Linked DNA regions of Homo sapiens: region 2 is linked to region 1. Evidence: promoter capture Hi-C in human tissues and cell types (Jung and others, 2019). All regions are on one chromosome and are shown on one strand. The core of a region is centred on a gene start or on the middle of the fragment in contact, and the rest is flanking DNA. Distances in the headings are between cores, read along the strand shown.

Region 1 (5,571 bases), core at 2,890-5,389:
TTATTAATGTTTACTAAAAAAAAGATCAATGCTCTAAATGATGTATCTTTTCAACCTCTACATTTAATAACTGTTTTGCTCCAACCCTAATTTGAAGTTATTATGAAAAGTATCATCAGCTATATAGCTGTATTTCCTGTATTTATAATACAGAAATCATTTTAATTTTCTCTTTAAATTCCAGTTATTCTATGTATTAATTATTTAGCACATAATACAAACAAATATTGCTAATAATGGTGACAAAAAAACTCATCAGGCTTAATTCACTTCACTTCTGAGCTTCTGAGGGAAGGCCTTTCATGTATGTCTCTTCTTTCCCTGTCAGACTACCACATAGCACCAGAAATGAACTTGATCTTCGAACAGATATTTTTAACAAATCACTCATTTGCTGAACTGAAATTTGACTTCCTAGAAATCCTAATCATAGGCAGGGCCCTTGACCAAAAAACAAAACAAAGGAAAAAACAGGTACCCTCTTCTTCCAGCCAAACAAAGCCTACGTCTATGTTTCCTTTCACTTCTTCACTGCTAGCTATGCCAAATCACACCAGCATTCGATTCCAACTCAAAATGCCCTACCCATAAAATCCTCACTTTATCTATTTTACCATAGTTACTTACTGTCTTATAAGTATAAATTTATTAGTATGCTGCTTTTTTCATATTTCCATGCCAGTTATTCCCTGAGTATTTAATGACTACATATGAGATGTGCTACATACACTGTGCTAGGGGAAAATACTGCATGTTTCTGCTTTAAAAGAAAATATATTCTGTAAAAAAAAAAAAAGAAAAAAAAGAAAAGAAAAAAAGGGGGGGAGTGTAGTGGAAACTGAGTATAATAAAATGCCAAGTGCTTTAACAAAATAAAACAAACGTAAAATGTCCTGAGGGGAGAGCTTTTCCCTAAAGTATCTGCTAAAGTCAGAGAAGAAATAATGGGTACCTTGCTAAGCTAGGGCAAGAATATTTCCTAAAATTTCACAAGTGTAAATTTCTTTAGTTTTAAATATTCATACAAGTTCTACTGGAAGATAAATATATTAGAGTAATTTTAATATGGTTTAAACTATGTAATGTTAAATAACTTTTCCAAAAAAAGATTTCAAGTAAAATGTATGGTCCATGAATAGAAACTATGTTTTATCCTGTGGTTTCAGACCCCTCCTGGCACACCACCATGTATCCCAGGCAGTGGAGTTGGAGAAGTTTTGCTGGGAGTGGGGAGATCTATTACAGTGCAGAAAATATGTGACTCCCCATCTTCCAATTCGCAAACAAATGAGCAACACACACATGCACAAGGCTACATTATCTAGTATCCAGTAAAATAAATCAAATGGCTAATTACAATACTACATTTACTATACTGTCAGTATCTAGAGGCCAGGAATTGTGCTGTAATTTGTGCTCTAGTGGCAGACATGTAGGAGGTTTGCTGAATGAATTACTGAACACCTAGAGTTGACTCCTGGATAAGCACACTAGGGAAAGCTATGGTCTGGTTACATACCACACACTCACACACGCACGCAGACACACAGTGGGTGAGATTCAGTTTGGTTAAAAATATTCAGTAGCTCTGACTGCCCTGGCAATGGTTTACAACAGCCATTTGGTGGCCTATAGAGAAAAAAGGTGCACTTCTCAGTCTAATTTCTGACAAAGGAAACCCAGCTTCTACTGAGTGGGTTAGATCGAGGGATAAACGCATGACAGACCACTTTCCTGAAACTTTTATCTTTGAATATACTGTTGTTTCCTCTCTCTGAATCTGGTTTGCATAACTGACTGTAACACCTGGTTATGTATGTTCACTGCCCTATCTCCCAAAATTTGCTCCCTCAAGGGAGTAAACAGGGTACACAATGCTATATCTACAATTTCTATATAAACTATGTAAAATAAAGTAGGTTAACTAATATTTCTTTAATATTCAAATATTGGTATATAGTTTCTACAGATATATCTATAGATTCTACATGGTCTCAAAGTTAAAGTTTCGCTCAACAAATCCCAGGCAAGGACTTAAATTACTTTATAATGACAAAATGTAGGTAATGGTGTGGATACACATGTATCCTAAAATGGCTACGCCTATAACAAGGATTCCAAAATTGCCATAAACTAGTCGTAAGTATTTTTGCTCATTACAACGGCATAAAAAGTCAAAGATTAGGACTTCCATTCATTTTTACATGCTAATTTTATTTTTTGGATTCTGAGGATTTTAGCTGATTCATTCCATTTGCAGTAAGACAAATGAGGAGGTTCCTGGTTAGGGCTCAGGTTTTAGACTCTAATAAATCTGAGTTCAAATGTGGATGGTAACATTTAACAGCTGTGTGATACTGGGCAATTACTTAATTTCTCTAAGCTTCAGTTTCCTAAAGTATAAAATGGGGTTAAAAACTATGTAGAAATTAGAATGAAGATAAAAATCAGATAATCTACAAAATGTGCTTTAAAAAGTAGTAAGTCTTGATAATTTTAATACTATAATGCTTGCTGATCCAAGCAACATTTAAAATATAAATATTGCAAAATATTAACGAGATAAAAAGGTGGGAAGAAGCTTCACTCTTTAACAATAAGCAAAGCTTTCAGGAGAATGAATGCAAGCAATTAGTACACAATAACGATTCATCATTCATTCAGTTCTGACTAAATTGTCCTGAAGTGACACATGAAAATAAACCGGCAGGTTTTATTCAGTGACTATGGAAGGTGATTAAGTGCTATGCTATTGCACTTAAAAAAGAGAGAGGAAAAAAAGGAGTAAGTGACGAATGCAACTGAAGTATCCTTCATGCAACCCTTGACAAGCTGTGTTTCCCTAGGAAACAAAGGGTTTACAGCTGCCTATCTTCCACAGCACTTAGTGACAATTTGGGACAATCTCAGCAAAAAGAAATGAGCAGACAAAGACGCTAGAAGGGCTTTGGGATCCCAAAAGTTAATGAAAGACCAAGTGTAAGAAGAGAAATAAAGTAATTCCCTCCAAGCCTAAAGTCTCTCCCGCTCCAATGCCCCCTGTACCCTCTCGGAAAATGGAAAATCCCTAAGGAGTCTACATCATTCCTCTGCCCGTTCCCCCTACTCTCCCCCAACCCTTCACGGATTCCCAGTGAATACCTGGCCTCGGGCAAGCTCCGTTACCTCTGTGAACCAGAGAATCCCAGCTGTAAAATGAGATCTTGATGGTTTCCTGCGGGGTTGCCATGAGAAAGAATCAACATGTACGCAGGTAAAGCAGGCAATACAGTTCCAGGGAGTCAAAAACGGGAGAAATCGTCCCACGACCTGGGGCTTGGGTCTAGATGAAGAGCACAGCATCAGGAGGCCAGGCTTCTAATGCGGCGCAGTCTACAGCGCTGTGGACTCGGCAACTCCCATCACCTGCCGCTGCACAAACACCCTGCTTGCTGCCCCCATAGACCGACCCCCGCCTGACGCCTCCCAGACCCCCCCACCTGACGCCCCTCAGGCCCCCCGCCTGACGTCCCAGACACCCCCACGACCGGATCCCCCAGACCCCCAATCTGACGCCCCACTTCCCCTACTTGACTCCCCACACATCCCCCGCCTGACGACCCCCCGACCCCCGCCTGACGTCCCAGACACCACCCATCTGATCCCCCAGACCCCCAATCTGACGCCCCACACCCCCCACTTGACTCTCCACACACCCCACACCTGCCACCCCACGTAAACCCCGCCTGACACCTCACAGACCCTAACCTGACGCCCCACAGACCTCCCCCGCCTCCTGCCGCCACACACACCCCAAACCCCGCCCCGAACACCCCCCACCTGCCGCCCCACAGATTCCCCCCTCTGACGCCCCACAGACCCCCAACGTGACGCCCTACAGACCCCAACCTGACGTCCCACAGATACCCCGCCTGACGCCCCACAGACCTTCCCCCGGTCTGTTGCCCCACAGACTTCTCGCCGCCTGCTGGACCACACCTTCCACTTGACTCCCCCCACACCGTCAATCTGCCACCCCCCACCCCCCCCACCCCAACCCCCCCCAACCTCCCAACCGCCCCCACCTGCCACCCCACACCCTTCCCACCTGACGTCAAGCCTGAAGCTCAGCCGCTAAGCCGGAAGCTGGCGCCAGAAGATGCCGGTTCCGCCAGCTGCTCGCCGCGCAGGCGCAGGGGAGACCCGGGGCCTTGCAGTCACCGGGCTCAAGCACGCCGGCGCAGCCAGGCTCGCGATGGGAGGTGGGGGGGCCGGCAGCCCCGTGGGGCTGCGGAGGCGGGACCTGCAGGATCCTGGTTAGGGTCTTGAGTACACACGGCTCCTATTGGCCTCGGCAGCAGATGCTCTCTGCAAGCAGTTGATCCACACGCCAGTGGATTTTGTCTCGAGGGAGACCTAAGATCACTTTGTGCTCTGGCTAGTGATAGCCTCTAATTCTTGTTCTCTGTACGTAAAACAGTGGTAACTATACTGATTTCGCTGGTTGTGAAAACTCCCAAGAGAGAACAGGACATCCTCCCAACTCAAAACGTTGGTTGTTTCATTTAAACTTTTAAAAAATAGGCTTTTGCAAACTATATAGAGCTGTTTTTTTTTTTAAATGATGTTTGCTACTGTGGTCTCAGTTCTCTTAATACAGAAATAATACATAACAATACATAACTTACAATATAGAAATAAACCGTTGCATGACCAGAAATCAACTATGGACTCTTCTAGTATCTGTTTAAGGTTTAAAAATAAAGTTATTTAACAAACCTTTATTGAGCACCTATTATTATATAGTAATGGTGCTAGATATTCAGGGTGGAGAGATTATAAACAACCCCAGTTTTTGTGTTCCAGGAGCTGTTGGTTTCCACCGAATTTTTGCTGTGGTCAGTCCTCTTTCGCCATGGAGAAGTGAGAAGTTATTCATAAAGAGGGGTGGAAACAACTTTTAGAACTATTTTATTTTAGCATAAAATATTGCTTTACAATAAAATAAATTTTGCTGCAGTGGGCCCTGATAAAACATATTAGAGCTGTTAAGTGCCCTTAGAGGTTGTGTAATGTATAAAAACCTCCTTTTTCAAAACTGACACATTTCATTCAGTGCTAGTTTGTAGCGGAGGTTCCGTCTAGCCCAAGAACATTCAGTTATTTACTTCGTATGTCTAATTGACCTAATATGCCTGAATATCTAAAATCATCTGTGATGTTGTAAAGTCTCATGATATTGTTTTGTGAGTATCTGCTCTTCAATTTAGTTATCAATTTATTTTGGAGGAAAAATGAATAGTGTTAAGGTAGAGGAGCCTCCACTTGCCCATCTTAGGAGAGGGTACCTATCCGTGTACATTTGTAGCTTGTTCAACCTCTACTGAGCTCCTACAATGTCAGAAGCTGGACTTTGTATTAGTTACATGAGAAGAACCATGAATTATGAAACCAGGCAAACTCCAAATTGATTCAAAGCCCAGTCTCCATTTCATCATGTTATTTTAGTTGATTGGTTCAAAGACAATCAAGGGTTTTTTTCACTAAGTATCTTCTAGAGTTGCCATGATTATTAATTTATTTATGTAAATG
Region 2 (5,639 bases), core at 56-2,555, 1.7 Mb before region 1:
AAAATAAGAAGGCTGATAAAAAAATAATTAGTGTGAATATACAACCTAGGAAGCTAAGATTTATCTATTTAACACCCTGACATCAATTCAAACTATGTACTCTAGAAACAAGAATTCAATTTCTGAAACTCAAATTAATGTAGTTGAATGCCTTGAGTTTCACAGTTATCTTTTAAGATGCTAACTTAGAAGAAAAGTTCTAAACATGGAAATGATAGTGTTCACTGAATGCCAAAAATAAATGACTGTTTCTTTAAAGTTAATTAATAAAATCTTCTGAAACAGAAACATCTATTTAATTTGCCAAAAGGAAAAAAAGAATTTCATTCATTTTTTTTTCTAACTTCTTCCTTTTATGTGTTTTTCACTGTGGCTTTAAAATGAGAAAAATGAGAAATATAATCATGACTTTCCGAGGGCCTCATTATTCTTGTTTAGTTTAATATATTTAAAAAATTCAGCATTACTTCAAATCACATAGCACTTCATCCTATAATACCAAATTTGCCTTATCTTAGAGCAAGTTTTATGGTATACTTTCCCCTAAATGGCCTCACTTGAAGAAAGAAAAATACAGAAGAATTTATTTTCCTTTTTTTTTTTTTTGAGACGGAGTCTCGCTCTGTCACCCAGGCTGGAGTGCAGTGGTGTGATCTTGGCTCACCACAAGCTCTGCCTCCCAGGTTCACGCCATTCTCCTGCCTCAGCCTCCCGAGTAGCTGGGACTACAGGAGCCCGCCACCACACCCGGCTCATTTTTTGTATTTTTAGTAGAGACGGGGTTTCACAGTGTTAGCCAGTTTGGTCTCGATCTCCTGACCTCGTGATCCGCCCGCCTCGGCCTCCCAAAGTGCTAGGATTACAGGCGTGAGCCACCGCGCCCGGCCCAGAATTTATTTTCAAGAAGAAATTTATACTTAGCAAAGTTAATTTAAACAAAACAAGCCCTCTACTTGATGAGATGGTTCTCACTGACATTTGATTAACTCTTATTTTGCATGCAGGGAGCCACAGCTAAAACACTGTATAAACTATCAGTGATGTAGGATGTGTGAGTTTTTCACCCGTGAAAATATCGTTCAATATGATAGGAAGAATCACTTGAATTAATACCACATTGCTATGGTTGTGTTTTGAAAACTTAAAGCAGTAAATCATGCATTAAGAAGTAATAACTGGCTTAGCTTCAGTGACTTTTCTATGCAACACTATTAATTAGTTTTCTGCACTAAACAGAATAATTTGGAAAAAGTAGATTCTAAAATTGAGTCACAGTTTAGAACTCCCCTCCTCTTTGCCAGCATTGAAATATGACTGAAGATGTTATCAAGTACAAATGGATGCTCTTAAAGAAAATGGTACAGTTTTATTTCTTTAATTTCAAATATTCATGATGAACAATAATAGGACATTCTACCCAGAGCTCAGAAAGAAGAGTGTTAAACATGGAACAACTTTGAAGCAGTTTGGTAAGTTGATTTTGTTTGTATGTGCACTTAAAAGGTTTTGATGACATATATTACTTAATTGCTTCTACTTGGGAAGAGAAAGGATACCAGGATACAGAACTGAGTTTACAGGTGCCATCATGCTATGCGAGGCTTGGACACTGAGGGAGAAGGTCAATCTACTGAGAGAAAAGTCACAAAATAAAGCAATAAACACCACATCTAGAACAGGAGAAATTCTATCACAGCTTTCGCATAAAGCCTTTTAACCATTAAAAACCGTATGAATGTCAAATAGCAATCAGTGAAGACATTCAGGGCCATAGGTATCTTTGACTATACAGACCTGGAAAGCTACTGGCTACAGACACTCAAGAGTGAAAAGACGGAAGAGCAGAAAGTGATGGCAGGTGCACATGTGTGCGTGTCTACATGTGTGTGCGTGCAAGCACATGTACACATAGGGGGTATAGATCAAGAAAACATACCGTCCAGGCTCAGTGATGTACACTGACGCTTTTCTGAGAAAGACCAGACAGTACTGGCAATAAACTGCACCTCCCCCAACCCCCGACTTTTTTGTTTGTTTGTTTTGCTAGAGACATGTTTAACAACATAAGATTATTTATGGAGTTGTTTATTTTATTTCCCCTCAAACTATTGTTTGGAACAGCTTGGTGTCTTGATTTTTAATAAATTCTGTTGAGGAAAAACATCACTTTCTAAGTCTAAGATCTTACTGTTAAAAGTTATGACGATTTATGCAGGTGGAATCTCTCAGTTAAGAAAAAAAATTTAACATAATTTCAAAATAAAAAACAAAACAAAAAAAAAGCTTTTCTTCTAGTATAATTTAAGGGACCGTTTCTTATTGCCACAGTAATTCAGAAAAACTTAATATAGTGGGAACATGAGAGTCAATGGTAAAAGAATAAGTAACTTCACATAGAAGAGCCAGCCTTAGACACACCTGAATATGTGTCCTGAGCTAGGGAATCCGGGAGTGGCCAATGTGGAGAGTCATTCCTTGTCTATGAGGAACAGCTGAGCCCTCGGCCCATCCTGTGGAACATGGGCCGTACAGGGACTCGAGGTCCTAAGTTCTGGATTAAATGAAGGTTGCCAGGTGGAAGTCATTAGCTGGGTGGTGTTAAGTGAAAATGCTATAGATGAACTACATGCTGTTTGCAAGCAGTTGCAGTTTTCCTGCCCAGCTCACTGCCACAGGGCCATGTGGATATCTTGTCCAGCCCACTGCCACTGGACTCTCTCTTTCCTTGTATATAAGCCCCCAATAAAACCCCATGTCTTGAAAAAAAAAAAGTCATTCTTGATATGCTTAATATGGGCCAAAATCTACTAAGATAGAGGAATTGTGTTTTAAAAATAGGCGGCCAGATGACCACTGCAATAGCAATGACTCAGCTCACATTTTTAAAGAAAAGAATAATGTAAGAGTTCTAAAGATAAAACATAATTCCCTATTGTCTATATTAGCTGTACTTAAGCATCAGATTTTTAAAAATGAAACTTCCCAGGGAAGGGATAGTGATAATATCTAATGAAAATATTCTGAACCATGGAGAAGCAGGTGTTTGAGTGAATTATTTCCAGCACATAATCCAGTGCCTGCTCTGAAGATTCTGACAGTCTCAATCATTAAAATATCCTTGCCAAGATACGAAAAGGTCTAGCTGGGAAAGGGTCAGAGTAAAAAGTTCATGGTGGGGAGGGTGCACATCCCACAACCCTCTAGCTCTTTCTACTGTCACTAATTGCATGCAATGATATTAATGACCCAGTAATTGCGAGACGAGTGGCACTGAAGTGGAAAACATCCATCGGAGGCAGAGTTCATCTCTAGGCGGTGGGACTTCACCAGCGACCGAATTAATGTCTGCTGACAGTTTAGAATATAACAACACTGCAGAGGAGAAAATGCGTCACTCTCATGGACACACACAGCTTAGATGGACATCACAGCTTAGATGGACATGTTGTTTGCTTTGACCATCTAGAGACCAGTAGTAACCCCAATAAGGTGCCCCTATCTAAATTTGCCCTACACATGAACCTTATTCCGTCCAGGGGACATGTTCTATCCTCTAAGAATCCAGAGCAATTTCCCGCGTTTGTGCCAATAAAAGAATACCTTCATCCCCTGTTTAACATCAGGAACAACAAAATGGGCTACTTCACCAATGCAAAAAACCACTTGCAAAGCACAACTGTCACCCAGCCTGGCTCCTCTGTAATGAGATCAATTACACTCCAGCTTGAGGGTCTGCCAATCCATCAGTCCTTCTATGCAGCCAGCCAGCCAACAAAACTGCTGCACTTGTACTTGGCTAAGGGAATTTGAAGTCTCATACCACCTCTACTTGTATGTTTGAGAGATTTTTATTTTTAATCACTATATGATGTAGCAACTTTCTATTGAGGGGCTTAAAGTACTTGCTAACATAAAAACACAAAATAGTATAGATTTATTGAAAAAATGGAATTAAGAGTATGTCTAAAAAGAAAAAGAAAATTCATAAGAGCTAACAAATTGCCACTATAACCACCTTTTCCCAATGGCCTTCCTTTCCTAGTACCCTGTAGGATTTTCTTAGTTCAACTTTGGGGGCAGATGATTGCAAGCTGGTTATATGTTACACAATATATGACAAAGCGTCAGTACCAAAATGTCTGATACAAGCATACAGTCCATCCTTTATAGTTCATGAGCTTCTCTGCTGTTGCTATGTATGCAACATGTGTGTACGTATACTCTGCTGTCTCTACATATGTGTTATGTATGCATACATACTATCTTTACTATTGCTACATGTGCACTTAGATGTTTGGACCCAGGAGGCACTGTTGTAAACTAACAACGCCGGCCTAAGGGTCCAGCGGCCCTGGACTGAGTTTTGTTTCTGACATTTGATGGCCAACTGAATTGTACTAAGCTACTCACACTAAGTTTCAGCTTTCTCACAGTGATAAAAATTGCTCTAAGACCTGTGTTTCTAGACTTCAAAGTGAGACAAGAGTATGTGAAGGCCACAACACTTCCCTAAGTGATCAAACACTCAGCCCGAGATTTTGAAACTTCAGGAACAAATGTGACTCTTAAGAACTATACAAATAAGTTAAAGTAGTATTTGCTTGTCTGGTCTGTGCATCTTGGCTATTTTCATGTGTTTTATTTTGCTTTAAAGTTTTATCTTCCTGATGAATGTTTAAAGGTTATTAAGAAAGAAGCCTGTCCTCTTTCATTCTTGTACTAGGTCTCTAGCATTGTCCAATTATTTATAAATCCCAGTGAACCTTTAAAAAGCCATAAATAAGGTGCTAAAGATACCAAGATACATTTTATGAAATAATGAAGGCAGTTTTATTCTGAGCAATTCCTAAATAATTCTTGCTGTCATGATGGCTTAGGTGATGTCATTTAATGTGAACAGAGTCTCCGTCCACAGCAGCTTTTTCTTCTTACACACAGAGCCATATGGGACAGACATCCCCAGGTCGTGACTCCGCTATACCCGAGAGCCAGGAGTTTCTCAGTGCAATCTCAAGTTAAGCAGAAGCTGAGACTTTAATCCTTAAATGTAAAGAATTTATCTTTATTCATATTAAATTCAATCAGGAGTCTCACTGACACACACTGGGAAAACCTTTAATACACCCAGAAAAGGAGTTCACATGATGTTCAGAAATAACAGAAACAACGCTTCGAATTATCAGACTAATGGGCTGATCTACTTTCCCAGCTAGCCTCAGTGATAACGCAACCCTGACACATTTTCTTCTCTGGAAGACGATTTATACCACATTAGGATGCTACTAAAATTATCAATAAAGAGACACTATTTTCATTGTGTAACAGGGAACTGAGAAAAAGTCCTGGCAAGGCTGGTAACATGGAAATTGGGAAAAATGATTATATGTATCTGAAGACTCCTCCCCTGTCTGTCTCTTTTGGGTCTTACAAAGGATCTGCTAACAAGCTTGGGCAATTCCATGAACAAAAAGATACATAAATGCATGTTTCTTGGTAAAGGAAGCTCAAGGACAAAAGAGCTTTTATAACACTGAAAGAAGACAAAGAGAGAAGATCTTATAATTAAGTTATGCAGCATTACTGAAACGTGTAAACTCTCTGGAGTTCCATTTTATGGATGGACTTCAAATCAGCCAAGC

What was found. Contacts are between HindIII fragments. The study calls those that stand out against the background at their distance.
Region 2: a contact is called between a fragment that was not itself captured here and the fragment with the promoter of LIG4 in region 1, in 1 of the 25 tissues and cell types used here (dorsolateral prefrontal cortex).

Annotation. Positions count from the first base shown.
Region 1 is chr13:108,211,397-108,216,967 of GRCh38, forward strand. LIG4 (DNA ligase 4) reads right to left here and starts at 4,140. Exons shown (of 3, transcript NM_206937.2): 1 at 4,088-4,140; 2 at 3,142-3,214. RefSeq lists an enhancer at 4,065-4,359 and a silencer at 4,203-4,342. The HindIII fragment of the contact is 8,794 bases long and covers 992-5,571 here.
Region 2 is chr13:106,501,005-106,506,643 of GRCh38, forward strand. All of the region lies in intron 2 of EFNB2 (ephrin B2), which reads right to left. Among named protein-coding and RNA genes, the nearest start is that of EFNB2, 32 kb to the right of the region's middle. The HindIII fragment of the contact is 5,118 bases long and covers 1-3,864 here.